4 separate regions of the Homo sapiens genome follow, and regions 1, 2 and 3 are each linked to region 4. Evidence: promoter capture Hi-C in 16 types of primary human blood cells and fetal thymus (Javierre and others, 2016). All regions are on one chromosome and are shown on one strand. Each heading gives the region's core, a stretch centred on a gene start or on the middle of the fragment in contact. The rest is flanking DNA. Distances are from core to core; before and after follow the strand shown.

What was found. Contacts are between HindIII fragments. The CHiCAGO score rates a contact against its expected background, and 5 or more counts as called.
Region 1: a fragment that was not itself captured here is called in contact with the fragment with the promoter of C15orf40 in region 4 in 2 of 17 cell types (total CD8 T cells and naive CD4 T cells); the score reaches 7.2 in total CD8 T cells.
Region 2: a contact is called between a fragment that was not itself captured here and the fragment with the promoter of C15orf40 in region 4, in 2 of 17 cell types (megakaryocytes and fetal thymus). The highest score is 6.8, in megakaryocytes.
Region 3: a fragment that was not itself captured here is called in contact with the fragment with the promoter of C15orf40 in region 4 in 1 of 17 cell types (activated CD4 T cells); the score reaches 6.1 in activated CD4 T cells.

Annotation. Positions count from the first base shown.
Region 1 is chr15:82,277,042-82,279,924 of GRCh38, reverse strand. The region is part of intron 3 of SAXO2 (stabilizer of axonemal microtubules 2); the gene reads right to left. Among named protein-coding and RNA genes, the nearest start is that of SAXO2, 16 kb to the right of the region's middle. The HindIII fragment of the contact is 236 bases long and covers 1,299-1,534 here.
Region 2 is chr15:83,575,351-83,578,062 of GRCh38, reverse strand. It overlaps SH3GL3 (SH3 domain containing GRB2 like 3, endophilin A3), which reads right to left. Exons shown (of 9, transcript NM_003027.5): 6 at 1,322-1,480. Among named protein-coding and RNA genes, the nearest start is that of ADAMTSL3, 77 kb to the left of the region's middle. The HindIII fragment of the contact is 8,892 bases long and covers 1-2,712 here.
Region 3 is chr15:82,257,357-82,260,056 of GRCh38, reverse strand. It overlaps EFL1 (elongation factor like GTPase 1), which reads left to right. Exons shown (of 20, transcript NM_024580.6): 3 at 902-969. Among named protein-coding and RNA genes, the nearest start is that of EFL1, 4.0 kb to the left of the region's middle. The HindIII fragment of the contact is 6,257 bases long and covers 1-2,700 here.
Region 4 is chr15:83,010,152-83,012,930 of GRCh38, reverse strand. It overlaps C15orf40 (chromosome 15 open reading frame 40), which reads left to right and starts at 1,292. Exons shown (of 4, transcript NM_144597.3): 1 at 1,292-1,434; 2 at 2,568-2,694. The coding sequence starts at 1,324. It overlaps LOC124903542 (a long non-coding RNA gene), which reads right to left and starts at 1,190. Exons shown (of 2, transcript XR_007064742.1): 1 at 1-1,190. RefSeq lists an enhancer at 1,055-1,114. The HindIII fragment of the contact is 2,628 bases long and covers 1-2,427 here.

The DNA of each region.
Region 1 (2,883 bases), core at 167-2,666, 730 kb after region 4:
CTGGTTAGAAAGTTTATTCTCTTCTGAACAGGTTTAAGTCCAAGAAGTGCCTGCATGCACTTGCCCACTATTTGTATACACAGCTCCAACCCCATTTTAATATAGTGAGCTGTTCTAGGTTCTTCTTTGAGGACAAAAGTCTTGAGTTGCTTATGCTAGTTCTTTTTCCTGGTACTTGGGACTGCTCCCTGTGGTGTCTTGTGGTACCGAGGAATTGGAAACTACTTTTAGAAAGTAAGGGGACATCATCCTCGGCCTCAGCTTTTTCAATCTACATATCACCAATCTACTCCCATGGTTTTAATACTACCTGTAAGGTGGTGACTCCCAAACTTGAATCCCTACTTCAGACCTCCCTTCAAACACCAACCCACATATTTATCCACCTACTAGACATCTTTATTTGGATGTCCCTCAGATAAATGAAAACTTAGCATGCCCCAATTAATTATCTCACTCAGACTCACATTCCCCAGAAAATAACACATCAACAAAGTTTCTATTATGAATTTGGCATCTCAGGCTAAGGTTCTGTTTAATTGACTTTCTCTCCCTCATTTCCTTCTCTCCTTTTCAAGTGGTTTTCAAATACTGTTGATATTACCTTCTAAATATTAATGTCTTCCTTCTTGAAGCAAATATGGAATGAATGGCAACCTGATAAAATTGTCAAAAATAAGAAAAAGAAAAAAGAAGAGGCCACAATGTAAAATAAACGTCTATAAGGTCTATTCTCTTTCATTCTTGATATTTGTAATTGGTGTCTTCTCTCTTTTCATTTATTAACTTCATTATCTTTTAATAGAACCAATTTTTGGTTTCATTGTTTTTCTCTATTATTTTTCTGTTTTCAAATTTATTGATTGCTGCTGTTATCCTCATTTATTTCCTTCTGCTTTGCTTTGGATTTAATTTGCTCTTATTTTTCTAGTTTCATGCAATGAAGGTTTAGACTATTGATTTAAGACTTTCTTTTCTAATATGAACCTTAAATGCTATAAATTTTCTGAAAAGCATTGCTTTAGATGCATCTCTCAGATTTTGATGTACTATATTTTCATTTTCATTAAATTCAAAATATTTTCTAATTTCTTTTGTTACTTTTGCTTAAAGCCATTAGTTATTTAGGATTTTGCTGTTTAATTTCCAAATATTTGGAGATTTTCCACATTTTTTTCTATTATTGATGTCTAATTTAATTCTGTTATGATCAAAAACACACATTGCACGACTGCAAGTCTTTTATATTTGTTAAGGTTTTTTTTATGACTCTGAATATAGTTTATCTGGATGAAGCTTTCAAGTGCACTTGAAAAGAATGTATATTCTGTTATTGTTGACAGAAGTGCTTTACAAATGTCAATTTGGACAACATTGTTGATAGTGTCGTTCAGGTCTTTATATCCATATTCATTTCCTGTCTACGTTCTATAGATTACTTAGAGACAGTGTTGAAGTCTCCAACTACAAATGCATATTTTCACATTTCTTATGTTAGTACTATAAATTCTTGCTGCTTTGTATATTTGAAGCTTAGGATCTTGTGTTTGAGAAATGGAAAGCGGGTGTGTGGTGGTTTCTCTGTTGTCCCAGTCCAGCTTCAATCTTAGGCAGGCCCTGTGCCCCTGGGTCTCAGAAGCAGGGCTCTCTCAGAGCACCTGCCCTTTCACTTGATGTAGTAGGTCTCTAATTGTTGGTCCCAAGACAGTTTCCTGTTCTTTCTTCATGTTCAAGGTTTGGTTTTATTTTGCTTCTTCTTCTTGTTTTTCCTTTGTCTTTCATCAAGTTGCAATACATCTTCACCTATTCCTTGGGGTTGTCAGAGTGGTGCCTTTCCTGCAGTGGATTAATGCTTTTGCTCTGTAGGTTAGAGGCATTCAAATGGAGCTTCCTGCTTTTTTTTTTCTTTTGCAAAAACAACCATTTTTCTCTCCATGCCCGCACTATGAAGGAAACTTTCTGTGGTCTCCAGCCTTTCTCCCAATCTTTCTCATGATCACACAGTGAACATCCATAGGGAAGAGTCTATGAGTGGTTTTGAACTCTCCCTTTAGTGTCTGAAGTTCTCAGAGCTTCTATACTCTCGCAGTAGCTCATACTCAAGTCTTTAGCAATTAAAGATGTAATGAATTATTTTATTCACTTGTGTAACAGCTAGTCTTCATTCCATGCCCTGCTTTGGGTGAAACAGTGCTTGCCTCCTGTCTCAACTGGGTGGAAGTTGTTTCTCCTCAGATGTCAGGCTAATTGGTTAACCTGTGATCTCAGCTTTCTAAAGGATTCATAAACATTTATGATTTTGTAGATTATCTGGCTTTTTCTTATTGTTATGTTGGCAACATAATCTTTCTAGCCTTCTGCATCCTACACAGAATCTGAATATTCTGGATTTCTTTATGGTGAGGTTTAAAATTACACCTTCAATTCTACAAATTCAATTTCCTTTATAGATATAGGGCTATTTTGACTTTTTATTTCTTCTTGGGTTACTTTTGGTAAATTGTATTTTTCAAAAAATTTATCCATTTTATGTAAGTTGTAAATTATTGGCATATTTTTTAAAATAATATCTTTTTAATGTGTGAAAAATCAATCTTTGAATTTTAATCACAATATTTTGTTCATTTACACTTAATGCAATGATCTAGCTGGGCTTAAGTTGATTGTATTGCTATTTGCTTTTGACTTTTCCCTTCTTTGTTCCCATACCCCTTATTTCTTGCCTTCTTTTGTATTAATAAATGGCATTTGTATTATTCCACTTTACTATTTTAACTTTCTATATTTTAAAAATAAAAATGAATTTTTGACTTATTATGAGATTTTTCTGGCTCCAACTTAAATGGATATTTTTACCACTTCTAGCATGGAAGAACCTGTAAG
Region 2 (2,712 bases), core at 139-2,638, 570 kb before region 4:
AAGATCCGAGACCTTCACAATTCCCGAGCCCACAAGCACCACTATGGAACAGCTGAAAAATTTGGGTCATGCTTTTGTGTCCTCAATGTGGGCTATGACAGGTAAAGGCACCAGAGAGCTGGGGGATGACAGCGGCTGTCCGCCCCCCAGATAAGAGAGCTGTTCTCCCTTAACCATCTGCCTTGCCAAGTACTTTTCAGTCTCAGCAAAATGGCAAATTACTACATGACCTCGACTTTTCATTCTCCTGTGAAACCATAAATCCTATGGCCTCACATACAAAAGCCAGTCTACTTAGCAATCTTCAGAGACAACCTCTGAAGCAATCCTGGGATAAACAGGACTCCTCAAGATTTAAGATATTGAGTCAGGGGCTGGCGTGGTGGCTCACACCTGTAATCCCAGCACTTTGGGAGGCTGAGTCGGGTAGGTGGCTTGAGCCCAAGGGTTCATGATCAGCCTGGGCAACATGGCGAAACTCCCATCTTGACAAAAAATTATCAGGGTTTGGTGGCATGCCTGTGATCCCAGCTATCCAGGAGGCTGAGGTGGGAAGATCGCTTGAGCCTGGGAGGTCGAGGCTGCAGTGAGTCACAATCGTGCCACTGCACTCCAGCCTGGGCAACAGAGTGAGACCCTGTCTCCAAAAAAAGATGTGAGTCAGGGCTTGCTGGATGTCTGAAGCAATCAATCTCTCAGGCAGGAGATAGGAGAAAATTCTAGAAACTTGCATAACAACTAAGGCTTTAGAGCAAGTTTGTCCAACCTGTGGCCCACAAGCCACATGTGGCCCAGGATGGCTCTGAATGTGGCCCAACACAAACTCATAAACTTTCTTAAAACATTATGAGATTGGACGGGGGTGGTGGCTCACACCTTTAATCCCAGCACTTTGAGAGGCCCAGGCAGGCAGATCATGAGATCAGGAGATCGAGACCCTCCTGGCCAACATGGTGAAACCCTATCTCTACTAAAAATACAAAAATTAGCCGAGTGTGGTGGTGCGTGGCTGTAATCCTAGCTACTCAGAAGGCTGAGGCATGAGAATCACTTGAACCAAGGAGACGGAGGTTGTAGTGAGCCGAGACACTGCACTCCAGCCTGGTGACAGAGCGAGACAGCGTCTCAAAAAAAAAAAAAATTATGATTTTTTTTTTAAGCTCATCAGCTATTATTAGTATTAGTGTATTTTATGTGTGGCCCAGGGAAGCCAAAAGATTGGACACTCCTGCTTTAGAGTTTTTCAACATGCCGATCATAGTCATATATTCAATGTTTCATTCATTTACATTAAAATCTCCTATTTGGTTTAAATACTTACATCATTTTCTAAAAAGTTAAACATGCTTCTTTCAGCCAACTCCTTTGACTCTTCAAATTTTTCTACCGCTTGTCTGACTTCTTCGTCTGGTATCTTACCTACTCGTTTCTTTTTATAATCGTAATCCAGGCGGCGGCCTTCCAGCTTTTTCAGGTGATGCTAAAAAAAGAGAATGGAGTCCCTCAGAGAGGTGCTACATTCAAAACCTGGCACAAAAAATTATTTCTATTAAAATGGTCATTGCTTTTTCTCGGCCTAGATTCCAGAGGGCAGGAACCCACCTTACACTGCTGTTGGGAGCACCTCAGCACCTGATGGAGGCTCCCCTCACTTCAGGTGCTCCAGGAATATTTGTGGAATGAATGAATGAATGGACAGATCGGTGATAGAATGAATGAGTGTCTTTATGGAATGTAATGATGCAGTAGCCATGCTCAGATATTATTTTCCAACGTTCTTTATACGATCCCTCACTTCAGCCTTCTTAATGTCCAGATAATTTCTAACCAGGTTAACCAAACAAAACACAGTAGGAACATTTCTTTTGGTACTATTGTCAACTCCTGACTAAGTAGTAGACTATAAAATCACAAACTTCTACAATCCCTTAGAATATTAACGGATCTCCGTAAAGTTCCCAAACAATCAAGAAATAAGTTGCGTAAAACGCTGTTAATGAATGCAAAGGAGAGAGATTCACAGACAACCTCTGAAACAGTAAAATTTCTAAACAATATTATAACCGCTTTAACAAAATATAACAGTTAGAACTGTCCACTCATGGAACAGGCTGCCTTGCGTAGCAGTAGGTTTCCCATCACAGTTTGTGTCCAAGCAGAGAGACCCCGTGTCAGAAACAGTGCTGAGTGGGATAGCTATACAGGACAAGGGAGGGGTCCCTGGAGAGTTTATGGCTATAATCCTCGGAAATCAGATACCAGGCATCGAAAGTGTATGTAGAAACTGATCATCCCACTGAAGCATGGGGATAGCTCGCACTATTCATTTTAGCAGGAAGCACTGCTTCTAACTTCCATGACTCAGTGAAAAGAGCACACAAGACCCAGAGAGTCAGAAACATCTCTCTCTTTGCTCTGTGACTTTGGGCTGGTCCCTAATCCCTCTGTACCTCTACATGAACACCTGAAAGTCAGCCGTATGTCAAATGAACAGGCCCCTGACCCCTGATTTCTGAGCGACACAGAGCATAGCTGAGACTATGAAAGGCTTCCTAAACCTTGGACTCTTAACTTTCCATCATCCACATAATTTAAGTTTAGATTTACAGTTCTGTATCAAACAGCAGCTGAGTAACAAGATGGCATTTAGAAAACTATTTTGTTGCATAGAGAACTGCAACATTTCAGAATAAGTGTGTTTTACACATTTCA
Region 3 (2,700 bases), core at 52-2,551, 750 kb after region 4:
AATAAAGCAAAGTTCCTGCTTGCTTGATAATTATTTTCTAGGGAGGTATATACTTGGTGTACTTAGAATAAATTCAGCTTTACTGGGTAGCAGGAAAGTGATGCTCTAGGATTATATGCTAATACATATTTACATTGCAGACAGATAGCAGTGTTAAATATCTTCAGTTCTCCTACTCATTGGTCTCTGGTTTGAACAATACAGAGATTCCATAGCTTTGCTGAAGTTCCTAAAGTGCAATAAAGACTTGTCTTGAAGGAAAAAAACCCTCCTTTGCTTACTCCAACCCAGTTGTAGTAATTATGCATACCCCTGACATTCTTTACACAGAATCACCTGTTTATATCACATAAAATCTCATAGACTTTAGTTGTATGTAGTCTGCTTAATAAAAGTAACTATAAATATATTCGAAGATTCTTTTGCTTTAAAGTAGATTCCTAGGTTTAGATTTGGATACTAGGTTTCATTGGTTGTTACAGTATGTTTATGCCCTCCACATGCTATATTACAAACAGTAAGAGATATGGATAATGTTCCTGAATTTCTTTGATAAGTAAGTATTTTCTTAAGACAGTTTAGCAAATTCCAGCTGAGGCCATGCATGGGGAAATATGGCAAAAGAGTATGTTCTCTAAAGTTACTTGACAACTTTTCAGATGAGGTTGAGTAGATCCACAGGGTTGGAGATAAGATTACAGCATTATAGAGTGCTAGCCTCTGTGTCCTTCCAGATGATATTCTGTTCAAAAGTCTAATAAATCTCTTTTGTCACCTAGCATAGGTAAATAGAAAATCTTTACTAAACCAATTCTTATGACCAGATTTTAAATCTATAGGTATGATCCATGACCCCTTTTAAAAAAGATATAGATTTGAATTGATGTTGCTATTTTAACAGGAAAAACTACTCTGGCTGACTGTCTTATATCTAGCAATGGAATCATCTCCAGCCGCCTAGCAGGCAAGGTATGTTATTATTTTATAAATACTTGTTGCATTTCAGTATTAGCTATCAACAATGTGATGAACCATTTTCTGTGTTCTTCAGCCATCCAAAAGGGTATAAAACATAATTCTTGCGTCTAAAAGCTGCCAATCCATTTTGCAAGATAAAAATGCTGAGGAGAAAAATAGTTACTTCTGTATTGCTTTGTATTGCTTTATCCTAAGTGCAAAAGTGAGTTTTTGCAGCAAGCAAATGATACACCATTGTGGAAGATTTCACAGCGCAAGAGATTCTTTGTAGGTGAATGAGTTGAGTGGTTTGAGGAGAAGACAGAAAAGCTACCAGGTAGTGGGAAATAAGACGGATAAAGGCTAATTTGTGTGTTGTGCTCTATTTGAGTGGAGTGTTTGCCTAGAGACTAGTGACAGAGAAAACATACTGGCAGGGAGAATAAGATTATAGAAGACCTTAAAAGTTAACCTAAGTATCAAAGGAAAGCTGCTTGTGCCTGAGGATTGTGATGAAAATAGTGGGTTTTTTGGTTTTTGTTTTTGAGACAGGATCTCACTCTGTTGCCCAGGCTAGAGTGCAGTGGTGTGATCATGCACGGCTCACTGCAACCTCGCCCTGTTGGGCTCAGGTGATCCTCCCACCTCAGCCTCTTGGGTACCTGGGACTACAGGTGCACACCACCACACCTGGCTAATTTTTTGTAGAGACAGGGTTTTGCCATGTTCCCTAGGCTGATCTTGAACTCCTGGGCTCAAGCAATCCTCCTGCCTTGACTTCCCAAAGTGCTGGAATTACAGGTGTGAGTCACCACACCTAGCCTGAAAATAGCGTTTGAGGAAATAAAATTAAAGAGATCTTTATTTGTAGCTATGAGTTGAAAGGGCTTGGAATAATTTACTTGGCAGTAGAAAAATAAAGATATATTCGTTTCCATAATGAATTTAGGATATGATCAATAGGGTTTATCAGGTGACAGAGAATAGAGAGAAGAGGAGACGGAGAAGCAAAATTGAATCCACAGGGTAGACCCAATAGACTTGAAGATCGATTTGGGAATTGATGTGTGGGTTGGGAGGGAAGCTGGCCCAAGATACTATCTAGAGGAGGCTGAAGAAAACTAGGTTGAGTGAAATAATGAAATGCTTATATTTTCCCCACTTGAGAATTTAGAGAAAGTACAAAACTGAAGTAAGTAGATGAAAGGAAATAGTAAAGCATAAATTAATGAAATAGTAAACAGACATTTTATAGAAAGGATCAGTGAAGCCAGAAGTTTGTTTTTGGAAAAGATTAACCCAGCTAACAAATACAAAGAGTGAACCCTAATGTAAACTATGGACTTTAATTAATCATAATGCATCAATATTGGTTCATCAGTTGTAACAAAGGTATCACACCATATGCTAATACAAGATAGATATAATAGGGGAAACTGTGTGGGTGGGAGGAGAGAGTATGTGGGAACCTTCAGTCAATTTTTCTGTAAACTTAAAGGTGCTCTAAAAATATAAAGTTATTAATTTAAACAATTACTAGCAATATAGACAATTTTTGATTCTCTTGACTAGGAAACTTTTTTGTTTTGTTTTTCATTGACATTGTTGAGGAACATTTGACACTTTTGACCTGGTAATGTTCCTAATGTGGCTCACTGTACTTTGGACATATAGAAAGCATAGTATATATAAATAAATATTTTTGAATGAATGACTTTAAAGAAGAGTAACACAACTGACAAA
Region 4 (2,779 bases), core at 43-2,542:
AGTCACTGGATTATTCTCTACAATTATCTCCATTTCCTTCTCTCCACTAAAACTGCTGTAGCCCGGGTCACCACCACCACCCTGATTTCTAAATCTTGTGGCCACTTCTCAGTCGTTACATGTGACATGTTCTCTCCAGAGTGTTCATCACTGTTGATGTTCCCTCTTGAAGCGCCCTTCTTTAGCTGCCGTTACACCGTACTCCTACCTGGTCAGTGTCCTTTGGTGACTTCTCTACCTGCCCTTGCTGTTCTAACCTGGGCCCTCGTGCTCTTTACACACTCTCTCATCCATTTCCATAGCTTCAATTGCCATCTGCTTTCAGAAGATTCCAGAATCTCTATCACCAGCCTTGATTTCGCAAACTCCAGTCACATATATTCAGTTACCCCTTTAACATTTGTATTTGGATGTCCTGTGGGCATCTCAAACTCATTATGTCCAAAGCTGAACTCCTCACCTCGGCCTCCCAAACCTGTTCCTTGGGCCCCAAACCTGGGCATTTCCTTGACTTTTCCCCCTTATTCGCACATGCAGTCATTCCCAAGTTCTGATCATTTCAGTTCCTGAAGATCCTTGAAATGATCAGCGCTCCACCCTCCCTGCGGTTACTCTAGTTCAGGCCACCCTCTCCCATTTAGGGGGCGGATCTCCCTGTCTCTGGCTTTTCCTCTGTCGGCCACAGTGCAGCCGGTGTCTTTCTAAAACCCAGCAAATTGGGCTGCTAATAATCCCTTGCTTGAAAGCCTTCAGTGACTCCATGATCTTGCCTCTGCTGATTTGTTTCATGTCTCTCCATATCACATGTCGCAGTGTATTTCCTCTTCTTTTACATTGTGGGATCCGCTGCGCCTGGCACAAGGTAGGTGCGCCATCGATACGTGGAAGATTCACAAGGGCCAAGCCGCCACGAGGCTCTATATCGACTTGATGGCCACAGGCAGCGCGTGGGACTCTGCATCTGCTGCTTGGCTGTGGGAGCGAGAAGACACCTGGCCCTGTGCACTCCTTGCCGCGCTCTCCAATTCTGAGAAGTGACAATACCTTTCTTTCCCCGATTAGGAAAGAGGTGACACACCTTCCTATCAGCTGAGCAGGGTGGGCCAAGACACGGTGAGGCCTCAGCTCCGCAGCTCCACTTCCTGGGGCTCGGCCCGTTCCAGAACAAAAGAGACTCGCGCATGTTCTGCGGCCACGAGACTCGCTCCCGCCGGCCTTAAGGTGTCGCCCTCTGGCCAGAGCGGATGCGCCGGGCGGTGGGGCCGCTCCTGCCGGCTACCTGCGCAAGCGCAGAGGGCTCTTCCGGCGCCTTCCCAGGCGGGGATGCTGCGGCTCCGCAGCGGGCTGAGGCACCTTCGGGCAACACCCAATACTCGGGGCTCCGCTCGGCTTCTTTGCGCCGAGATGCCTAAGAAGGCTGGTGCGACGACCAAGGCCAGTAGCAGGTCCCGTGGCGGCAGAGGGGTGGGCCTCAGGGGTACTTGTTGAAGAGCGCGGGAGAAGCGGGGCCCGGGAGTGAGTGGAGGCACTGCCAGCGGCTTGCCGTCTCTCAGTTCCGGGGCTCAGGACAGCCGCCGCCACCCCCAGAGCTGCGGCCTGCTGCCGTCGCCCCGCCTCAGTAGGCTGCGCTGCCGTCCACCTGGTGATTTCTGAGCGCTGGGCCCGGCGGCAGCCGAGCTCTCCTTGGGCTGCGTGTGCTGACCTTTGGCCTCCTACCCGCACTCCCAGTCCAGCAATTCATGTTCCCGCAGCGGCATGACCTGCGTTTCCCCAGGAGGCTGTATTCTGCTTTCTCCTCCCTTGCTTTGGCTGATCGCACCCCTTCTGTCAAGAATACAGCACTCCCATTTCCACCATCTTTGTTTGGCCAACCCCAGTCCGTTTCTCAGACTCAGCTCAAGCACTGCCTCCTGCTGGCAGCATTCTCCAGTGCCCCAATGCTGATTTGCCTGTGGGGTAATGTTCTGTGCCTATCTCATCGGTGCACTTAGCACAGTGTATTATAATTTTGTATGTTCTTTCTCCCTCGCAGCAGTCCGAGCTCCTTGAGAGCAAGGACCATGTACCTTTTCATCTTTACATATCCATTGCCTACATATTTGTTGAACGAAAGTTCCTAGCACAGCCCCTGTCCCATAACAGGCCTTTAAATATCAAGCACTATTTTTTTTTCCTCCCTTTCCCGCAACATGCAGACATACACACTTTCACCAACATTTATTAGCTCCGACTGCATGAGATACAATGATGAATAATAAATGATCCCTGCCCCCAAGGAATTGGAAATACAAAGCAGAGGGAGGAGCAAGCATTAAGGTTTAGAAGCCAGAGTTAGGTTTTCTTGCAAGGGGGGAAAAAACACTGTTGGGTTGATGGGAACCCTTCGTGGGAAAATTGAGTAGAGCCTTGAAGGTTGTGGGAAAAGCTTTCTAGGTGGCCAGAAGTCCCTGGACACCACTGATGAGCCTAGTTTGTCTGTTAAGGGTGAAAGGGGGTAGTGGAAGAATCAAATTAAATGTGTGGGAAAATATTTTGTAACCTGTAAAGTTGTGTGGTTGTCATTTTAGGGTAAAAGCCAGAGCAAGGAACCAGAGAGACCACTTCCTCCCTTAGGTCCTGTGGCAGTTGATCCTAAAGGATGCGTCACCATAGCCATCCATGCAAAACCTGGCTCCAAACAAAATGCTGTAACAGGTATACCTGGACACTGGGGTGGGATTCAAGTGTGAATCAGGTGTCTCCTACAGCCCTCCTTTGCTTTGGTTAGCTGAAAGCTTAT